Linked DNA regions of Homo sapiens: region 2 is linked to region 1. Evidence: promoter capture Hi-C in 16 types of primary human blood cells and fetal thymus (Javierre and others, 2016). All regions are on one chromosome and are shown on one strand. Each heading gives the region's core, a stretch centred on a gene start or on the middle of the fragment in contact. The rest is flanking DNA. Distances are from core to core; before and after follow the strand shown.

The links. Contacts are between HindIII fragments. The CHiCAGO score rates a contact against its expected background, and 5 or more counts as called.
Region 2: the fragment with the promoter of DAGLA here is called in contact with a fragment that was not itself captured in region 1 in 1 of 17 cell types (neutrophils); the score reaches 5.9 in neutrophils.

The regions. Positions count from the first base shown.
Region 1 is chr11:62,163,931-62,168,960 of GRCh38, reverse strand. No RefSeq gene overlaps it. Among named protein-coding and RNA genes, the nearest start is that of SCGB1D1, 24 kb to the left of the region's middle. The HindIII fragment of the contact is 3,257 bases long and covers 1,332-4,588 here.
Region 2 is chr11:61,677,703-61,682,346 of GRCh38, reverse strand. It overlaps DAGLA (diacylglycerol lipase alpha), which reads right to left and starts at 1,956. Exons shown (of 20, transcript NM_006133.3): 1 at 1,843-1,956. The HindIII fragment of the contact is 3,213 bases long and covers 1,051-4,263 here.

The DNA of each region.
Region 1 (5,030 bases), core at 1,711-4,210:
AGGCCAGAAATAGAGTAAAAATAGAGTTACCACATGATCCAGCAATTCCCCTTCAGGGTATACACAAAATAATTGAAAGCAGAGTCTCAAAAAAAGATTTGTACATCCATGTTCACAGCAGCATTATTCACAATAAAACACAGAAGCAACCCAAGTGTCCATCAACAGACACATGAATAATCAAAATATAGTACATACATACAAGGGAATATTATCTAGCCTTAAAAAGGAAGGAAAACTACATGCTACAACATGAATAAATCTTGAAGACATGTTAAGTGCAATAAGTCAGTTACATAAAAAAAGACAAATAACGTATGATTCCACTTATATGTATGTAAAATAGTCAAAATCATAGAAACAGAGAGTAGAATGGTGATTGCCAGGGGACGGGGGAGGGAGGAATAGGAAATTATTGTTTAATGGGTATAACTTTTCAGTTTTGCAAGATGAAAAGCACTCTGGAGATAGATGGCAGTAATGGTTGCACAAAATTACAAAATGTATTTAATACCACTGATATATACATTTTAAAATTATTTAAAAAAACGATTAAGATGGTAATTTTCATGTTTTGTGTATTTTACTGCAATAAAAGAATTGAACAAAGTAATGGCAATATTTTTTTCATGTGACAGCTTTTCACTTAGAGGGCAGGGCTTTTCCAAACAAATTAAAGTTATTAGGCAAGCCTGTGTGTCTTGGAGACTTTATTATTTTGTTTGTTTTAATAAATACAGACAGGGTCTTGTTATGTCACTCAGGCTGGTCTCAAACTGTGCCCGCCATTCTTTAGAAATTTTGGGAAATACAGGGTTGGGTGCAATGGCTCATGCCTGTAATCCCAGCACTTTGGGAAGCTGAGGCAGGGGGATCACTTGAGCCCAGGGGTTGGAGACCAGCCTCAGTGACATAGTGAGACCTCATCTCTACAAAAAATCAAAAAAATGAGGCAGGAAGATTGCTTGAGCCTGGGAGGTTGAGGCCACAACGAGCCGTGATCATGCCCCTGCATTCCCGCCTGGGCAACTGAAGTGAAACCCTGTCTCTAAATAAATAAATAAAATAAATTTGGGGAAATAAAGAAAAGCCCATAGAAGTCACCCATATACAACCAGTGTTAACTTGCTGGGCTCATGGGGTCAAGTCTTTTCCCATCCATCCAGACACAGATACCTGGATATCAGCATCTTGCTGCACAGGTGGGCTCATGCTCTGTGTGCATTGTTCCCTGGACAAGGCACAATGGCCATTCCCCCATCATGATAAATGTGCCTAACTCTTTTCTTCCCACCTCCATGTGCAAAAAGGTAGTTGAGTCAAGCAAAGCTTCTTTGAGGGCTCCAGAGCTGACTTCCCAGCTGCTACTGGTCCTTTTGGGTCCTCTCCCAGTGTTGAGACTCCTGATTTCAAGGACCCTGATTTCAAGGGTGCTGATTTTGAGGGTCTGAAGAAGTTCAAAGAGGAGGTGGATATCCAGCCAGCTAAGCAGAAAACAGCAACAGTCAACGGTAGTGAGCCCCTCTCTGCCCTTCTCTCTAACAGTGACATCCTGAGTCAGGGCTCAGTCCTGGGCAGAACGAGAGTCCTGGGCAGTTCCCAAGAGGAACTGGCCTGGAGGCCCAAAGGGCGGGATATCCACTTCACTGTGCCTTATCAATGTGCAGCTCAGGTATGAGAATCTGGTCATTAGGGCCTGACCAGTAAAGTTCCCAATATCCAAAGTTACAGAGCCCCGAAAGTCCCCCAGCTGCCTAGAGGTGCTTAGCAAAAAGTAAAAATAATACAACTCTGTGTTTGACCCTCACGTACTCTACAGCTCCTTTGGCCACTCCCTTTCTCTGCCAAACCCCAGGACCCTGTGTACCCCTGCTGTTCTCCCTGTCCCACCAGATCTCCCCTGGCCTCACAGGAACCTGACAAAAGGGAAGTGAGACAGGACAGATATGAAGAAAATGTGAAGTGATGGTTATTTTACACCTAGGCATCAAGAGACACAGTCGTTTGCTCAGCAGGTGGGATTTCTCCACATAGGCGGCAAGGAGAAACAATGCCGGGGTCCAGCATCAGAGACAAAGCTGGCAGAATTCACCTGCCCAGACCCCTCCTGCCTCCTGTTTCCCATTGGCCAAAGTTCACCCCATGAACTTCAATTCCCTGCACTTCTGGGACATGTCATCTGTACAGCTCCATCAGTGATACCAGATCCCACGTCCTGCGGCCAGGGACCAGAAACCCCGGGTGGGAAATAGCAGTCTGGGAGAGGGCCCTACTTTGCCAGGGCAAGGACTGGGAAGTCCCCACTGGCATCAGAAAAGTCTGGGTGCTTTTGGCCAACAAGAGGCAATGGAGGGAAGCCTCTTAACATTTCTGATGTCTTGACATGCGTCGTAGCAGGCTTGCCTTAGAGCAACACCTTCGAAGTCCAGTGGAGCTTCCTGCCCGACTGCACACTCCACACAACCTTGGGCTTGAGGTTGCTTTAACTCTTTGAGTGTCACTTTCCAGAGACTTAAAATGAAGATGAAGATAATATCACCCCTCAATCAGCAAATGCGATTGAAGGTTATGGCCAACGCAACTCAACTCGCCCAGTGCCTCACACACAGTAGGCACTTTGCGATTAAAGGTTGTCATCCATATTCCCAGACTATTCCCCGGGAAGTGGTTAGACAGAGCTGGACAACAAACCCCATCTCCTTGGCCCTGACACAGGGAGTGGCAAAAGGAGCTGTAGAGTCCACATCAGGGCCAAACACAGATTTTTATTATTTTTATTTTTTGCTAAGTGACTCCAGGCAGGTGGCGGACAATTAGGGGAGGTCCCTGTTGTAATTCCCAGCCCTGCCCTCCTACCCGAGGAATGAGAGAGGATTCCCTGCATTGCAGTCTGCATGTTGACCTCATGTAGACTAACACGCCTTAGTCTACTGGAGGGAGACAGAGAACACCCTGCATTCTCTGCCCGAGTCACTCTCCTCAATCTGCTTCAGTAGAACGTGAGACACAACTGTTGAAGGCCAGCAGCCCCTGGTCCCGAGCGCGGCAGTGCCACAGTGGATGCTCTCCCACCTGAGCCCTCGGACTGGGCCTCAGTGGGTCCTGCTCCCACAAGTGTCACTGTCTCAATCCGGAGAGTGGAGCTCGTAGGAACAGGACCTCATTGCCACATTTTCTTGGCCCCTTTCATTAAAAACACTGCAATCACCTTCATGGTAAGGCTCCTCCCTGTGGAGGTCTCCTACAGAAGTAGGTGAGGACTGGTTGCTGGGATTGAAGAGAGTGGCATGGTAGCTGAGGATAATAAGGGGTACTGGGGTAAGACGGAGAGGTTTGGGGGCCACACAAGTTGTCCATCTAGGGAACGTAGAGGTCACCTAGATCAAGCCAGTGTTGCCCAAGTAGCAAAAAAAAAGAAAAAAGAAAAAAAAAGTCTGGTCTTTTTTAGCCCCGAGAGGTGTCTTTGATGAAATTCTGACCAGATGAAGCCACCATCACTGCCCTGGGCTTACACATTACCTACATACCCTAAATCAATCACTGTCTGTTTTCTGTCTTTCTCTAAGCCATAGAGCCTGCTCTCTATCTGTTAAGTCTAGGGCCATCACAAACATGCAAACAATGACACTGTAAGATAACTTGGGCCAGGTGCAGTCACTCAAGCCTGTAATCCCAGCACTTTGGGAGGCGGAGGGTAGGTAGATCACCTGAGGTCAGGAGTTCGAGACCAGCCTGGCCGACAAACATGGAGAAACCCCATCTCTACTGAAAACACAAAAATTAGCCAGGCATGGTGGCGGATGCCTGTAAGCCCAGCTACTCGGGAGGCTGAGGCAGGAGAATAGCTTGAACTCAGGAGGCAGAGGTTGCAGTGAGCCGAGATCATGCCACTGCACTCCAGCCTGGGTGACAGAGCGAGACTCCTTCTCAAAAAACAAACAAACAAACTAACAAAACAAAACAAAACAAAACAAAACAAAAAACACCACATAAGATAACTGGGGCAGAAGGCCTCTAGCCCCTAGCCCCTAGCCCCTTTCCCTACCATTCCCGCAGTAGTGGCTGCACCCCTCCAGTCCTTTCTGCTGCACCCCCAGCACCTCTGGGGCACTTTCTGAGTTAAATAATTAGTTATAGGAGTCCTCACTGGGCATAATCCATACTTGTCTTATTACAGTGTCCCAGGGGCAAGTAGGACAGGAGCCCTGCAGAGGGCTCCTGCCTCTGTTATTCTCAAATCACAACTCAAAGACACTAAACACATTCCTCAAGATCCCTTACTCCAATTCTCAAGGACCAATTCCCCACTCAACCAATCCTGCCAGGCCAGGGGCAGAGCTGGCAGGAAGAATAGAGATCCAAAAAAAAAAAAAACCGTCATAGCTTTCATGGGTTATTAGCTCCTGTTCTTTTATAGGAGCTCCTATTAGCTCCTATTCTTTTATAGGTAGAATAGTTCACCTGAAATTAATCTGATACTATCAACTTTCCTATATCATAATAGCAGAGGAATGGGCATATTTAAAGTGCAAATTAATACAGGTAGGGGTATGTGTGTGTGTATCTGTGGGCAAGTAAGATTAAAGCTTCATGGATCAGGCAACCAAACCTGAGTCAAAGTATCCATCTTCATGTCAGCTGTTTCAGGCTTAATAAACTGCAATAAAAGCAAATACCCCCACAAAGGAATGACTACTTAAAAGGCACTTTAAAAGCCCCCCTGGCCGGGTGTGGTGGCTCACACCTGTAATCCCAGCACTTTGGGAGTCCGAGGTGGGTGGATCACCTGAGGTCGCGAGTTCGAGACCAGTCAGGCCAACATGGTGAAACCCCATCTCTACTAAAAATACAAAATTATCCAGGCATGGTGGTATGTGCCTGTAATCCCAGCTACTAGGGAGGCTGAGACAGGAAAATCACTTGAACTCGGGAGGCGGAGGTTGCAGTGAGCTGAGATTGCACCATTGCACTCCAGTCTGGGCAACAAGAGTGAAACTCTGTCTCAGAAAGGAAAAAAACAAAAACAAAAA
Region 2 (4,644 bases), core at 707-3,206, 490 kb after region 1:
GTGCCACCATTTCCTATGGCTCCTGCCTCCAGCCCTGGTCTCTTTACTTGATGAGACTCTCTGACCTTTGTACAGTCTTTCGCTGTTTGCAAAGTGTTTCCACGTGCACCATTTCCTTTCATTCTTTACTACCAGACCACCATGTGACATGCCTTGATTGGTGAAGTCACCTGCTGAAGGTCACACAGCCAACACTGGAATTAAAGTGATATGGCTCCAAAGGCATCGGACAGTGCTCCGGTTATAGGGAACTCATCAGCATCTCCAAGCACCCACCTTGGCAATTTGGCGACCACCTGCCACCCTACCCTCAACATCATCTTTTTGGACTCATAAGTGCCTTCCCCAGCACAAGCTCAACCCTGTGATTCTTCTACCACTGATCCCACTCCCCCAAGAGATCCACAAAGAACTGAAGATTTCCCCTACACTGTAAGACTTCTCTAGGAGGAGCTGCAAATTGCTTCTCTGTAAAGTAAGGCACTAGGTGATGCTGAGTGAGACCTTCACCCAAAGCTTCCCAAAGGACTGGTGAGAGCAAACACAATCTCAGCGCAGATGGAGGGGTTTTAACATAGGAGCTAAGCAGAGAGGACAGACAGAGCCCTTGGAAAGGAATTTAAGCCTGGGGGTGGGAGTCCCGGTGGCCCCAGCAGATTCCCAGTGGCTGCAGAATCATCTTTCAAGCATACCCCAATCGATCCAATCCTCTGGACCCAAAGGCTCCCCAGCATCAAAGAAGAGAGGCAACTCCCAGATACCCTGGAGTGAACCCATCAACCCAGGGAGAAGGCAGGACCCCGTGACTACAGATAGATGGTGCGCCATACCACTCCCTCACTCGCTGACCCGGGTTACCTCTTGGTCCTGCTTGCTTCTCAGGACATATTCTGGGACACCGATCACCACTGAAAATCATCCACCCCTCCCTTCATTCCCAAAGCTAGATGAAAAGCTAGATGAATGGTTCTCTCTACCTTAGCCCAGGACAACGGTAGTGCCTGGAAGGTCTCTATCTGGGTTACCATCAGGGCCCTTGTGGTAGAAGCTTCTCCTGGCATCTCTTGTTTATGCCCATTATAAAGGACACCAACCTTCTCCCAGCCTTCTGCCCTCCTCAGTCCAGTGTACCCAACAGGCATTAAAACTGGACCCCCATGACAGAGGCAGTGTCCCCTTCATCGCCCGTGAGGAAGGATGGGCATTTACCCTTCCCATTCATCAGGATGGGAGGGCCACGGACTCCCCCCGCGGCAGTGCCGGGTAGCCCCCCGCACCACACCGTGCCAAGGCCCTTTCTCACAGTCATGCCAGGAACTCTAGCCATGCTGAGAACACCAATTCTTCAAGCCCCCAGTGCTATCACCCCAGATCATGTCAAGCCCAAGGCCAGAACCATCCCAACACCCAAGCAATGGCAGCACTTCCTCACACCCATGCTAGCGGCACCACCATGCCGGCACGAGCTGGCCACCTATCCCATAACCAGTCCGAAGGCCGTGCCCATCACCTACCTGTGCAGACAGCTGCACCACCTCACACCTGCGTGGCCACCACCGCACCAAGGTGGAGGCGAGTCTTCTGAGACCCGTTCCAGGAAAACCACGCCGCCTGTGCCGGACCCACGTTGCCCACGCCCGTGCCACGCGTGTCACCATCCCCACGCTGGTGCCAGGGGCTCCACAGACCTCACACCTGCCACGGGCGCGCGTGGCAGCTGCAACTCCGCCCGCCGACCCGTCGGGCCGGCCACCGCGCGCCCTGGACACTGCCCAGCCCGCCGCGCCGCTCGCACCGCGCCCGCGCCCAGGACCGGCCCGCCGCGCCGGAGGCCCCCCTTACCTCCCGCCCGCCGCAGGGCTCGGCCCGCCGCCGCGACCGCCACCTCCATCCTGGGCTCCCCAAGGCCCCGATTCACTAACGCCGCTTCCGCAGGGCGCCGGCGCCGGCGCGAAGGCCGCCTCCGCCCCCCGGGGGACGCTGCGTCCTTTACGTAAACCCCTCTCCGCCGCCAGCGGTGACCATGGCGACGGTCGTGGGGAGGCAGCGCCCCCTGGCGCCAGGGAGGGGAGCGGCGTCGAGGCCAGGGAGAGCCGAGTCTTCCGCGGGCGCCGGCCCTGCGCGTGGGGGCGGTGGGCGCCTGGCTCAGGCTCGGCTGGGGTCCCGTGGGCGGCCGGGAGGGGCTGGACTGGCCGCGATGCGTGCGGGGAAGGGAGCCGCCTGGGTGCCTGCCCCTCCTTTAGGTCCCTCGTGACCAGTTTTAGCGTGGGAGAGGGAAAAAAGGAAGTAGGATCACTGGAGAACTGGTTCATTTGTGGGGAGGAGAGAGACGGGTCCCACCTCCTCGGGGTGACTGAACTCTGCTTGAGAAGTCAGAGCATGGCTAGAGTTCCTGGCGTGACTGTGAGAAAGGGCCTTGGCACGGTGTGGTGCAGGGGTCTACCCGGCACTGCCGTGGGGGGAGTCCGTGGCCCTCCCATCCTGATGAATGGGAAGGGTAAATGCCCATCCTTCCCCACGGGCGACAGAGCCCGTGGGTACCCTGGGTACCCCCTCCTCCCTACCACCCCCCCACCCCCCACCCCTACCCCCGTTCCCAGTGCCCAGCATCGTGCCTGGTCTCCAAAGGGGTTTACTTGGTCAATTTTGAATTTCTGGTAAATGAAGAAAACCGCCCCTCCTGTTCCCCTTCACGCCCTTTCATTCACCGTAAGTCGCTTACACCTCCCTGGGAGCACTGTGCTGAACTGGGGGAGTGGAGCACAGAGAGGAGCAGAAGGCGGGCCCTGACTTCAAGGAGCTCATTCTGCTGGGGAGGAGACGCAGATGGAGGGGGTTTTAACACAGAAGCTAAGCCGAGAGGACAGACAGAGCCCTTGGAAAGGAATTTAAGCCTGGGGATGGGAGTCCAGTCTGCAGGTCGGGATGACTCAGCTGGGTCCCAAAGATCCAGTAAAGATTCATCAGAGACAAAAAGGGGAAGAACGTTTTCTTTCAGGCAAGAGAAGTGCCTCTAAAATGTTTCCTAGGCCCTGTTGCCACCCCCAAAATCACAGTGATCGCGCAGTTCAGTAGAAGTGGGAGCCATAGGTGAACAAGGAGGTGTGGGTAGTGGGGTGCCCGGCTTGAGCAGAAGCCTCGGTCTGAAAATTACGTGGACATTTGGGTTGGAAATGAGACTGTGAGGCCAGGACTGCCTTTTATTGAAGCAGATGGAGCCACTTCTGGAAGGAGTTCTGTGTTACCTGTGATTATTTAGAAAGCAAACTCACGTAGGTAACAAGGAAAATGAGGAGTGGGCGCATATACCCAGTGGGGCACCTCAGGGGATTCAAGGAGGAGTTGAATTCCTCAAGGCTCAGGAAGGGCAGAGATCAGGGGAGGCTTTAAGGGACAACTGTAGCAGTATCAGTTTAGGGATCTTCTTTCTAGATCATTGCCATTAATCAGAATCAAAACTGCCAGATTGGATGTCTCTTGGTTCAAAGTTCCCGATTCCCAGAAAAAAAGAATCTTATTAGTCCAGATCAGGCCACGGTCAATCAGCTATGGCCAGGGCAGAAAGTGCTTTGTGATACAAACATGTCAGTCCACTTTTCCCCGTTGAGAGACACTCCCAGAGGAGGAGAATCATGACCTGAACAGCCAGTCCAAAGACTGTCGGCCAGGGGCGGTGGCTCATGCCTGTAATCCCAGCACTTTGGGAGGCAGAGGCAGGTGGATCACCTGAGGTCAGGAGTTCGAGACCAGTCTGGCCAACATGGTGAAACCCTATCTCTACCAAAGTACAAAAATTAGCCTGGCATGATGGCAGGTGCCTGTAATCCCAGCTACTCGGGAGGCTGAGGCGGAAGAATCACTTGAACGTGGGAGGCAGAGGTTGCAGTGAGCCGAGATCGTGCCATTGCACTCTAGCCTGGGCAAGAGAGCCAGACTCCATCTCAAAAAAAAAAAAAAAAAAAGGCTGTCTACTACGGATCCATCCCTTAGCTGTCCCATGTACACAAACTCACATGTGTCCATGTGCACACATGTGTCCCGACACACGCCAGTCCTTCTTCCCATTCCTCCAAAGTTGTCTTCACCAGACAAGTACCAACAGTCACCTTCACACTTGATGTCATGAGGCTACTATTATTTCAAGATCTTCAAGGTGATTGATCCCATCTGGTCATTTAACTGAATTAAAGGGTTACTTTTACCATCACCAAATCCTTTGAACTCTTGCTACTCAGAGTGAGACATTGGCACCACCCAGAAGCTTAACGGGAATGCATAATCTCAGGCCCAAGAATCTCAGGTTGGCAACAAGATTCCCAGGTGATTTGAATGCACATGAAAGGCTGAGAAACACCACTATTATAAATGTTAGGTGACCGGGTGCGGTGGCTCACACCTGTAATCCCAGCACTTTGGGAGGCTGAGGCGGGTGGATCACCTGAGGTCAGGAGTTCAAGACCAGCCTGACCAACATGGTGAAACCCCATCTCTACTAAAAATACAAAAATCAGCTGGGCATGGTGATGGGCACCTGTAATCCCAGCTATTCGGGAGGCTGAGGCAGGAGAGTTGCTTGAACCCGGGAGGTGGAGGTTGCAGTGAGCCGAGATCCCGCTACTGCACTCCAGCCTGGGCAACAGAGTG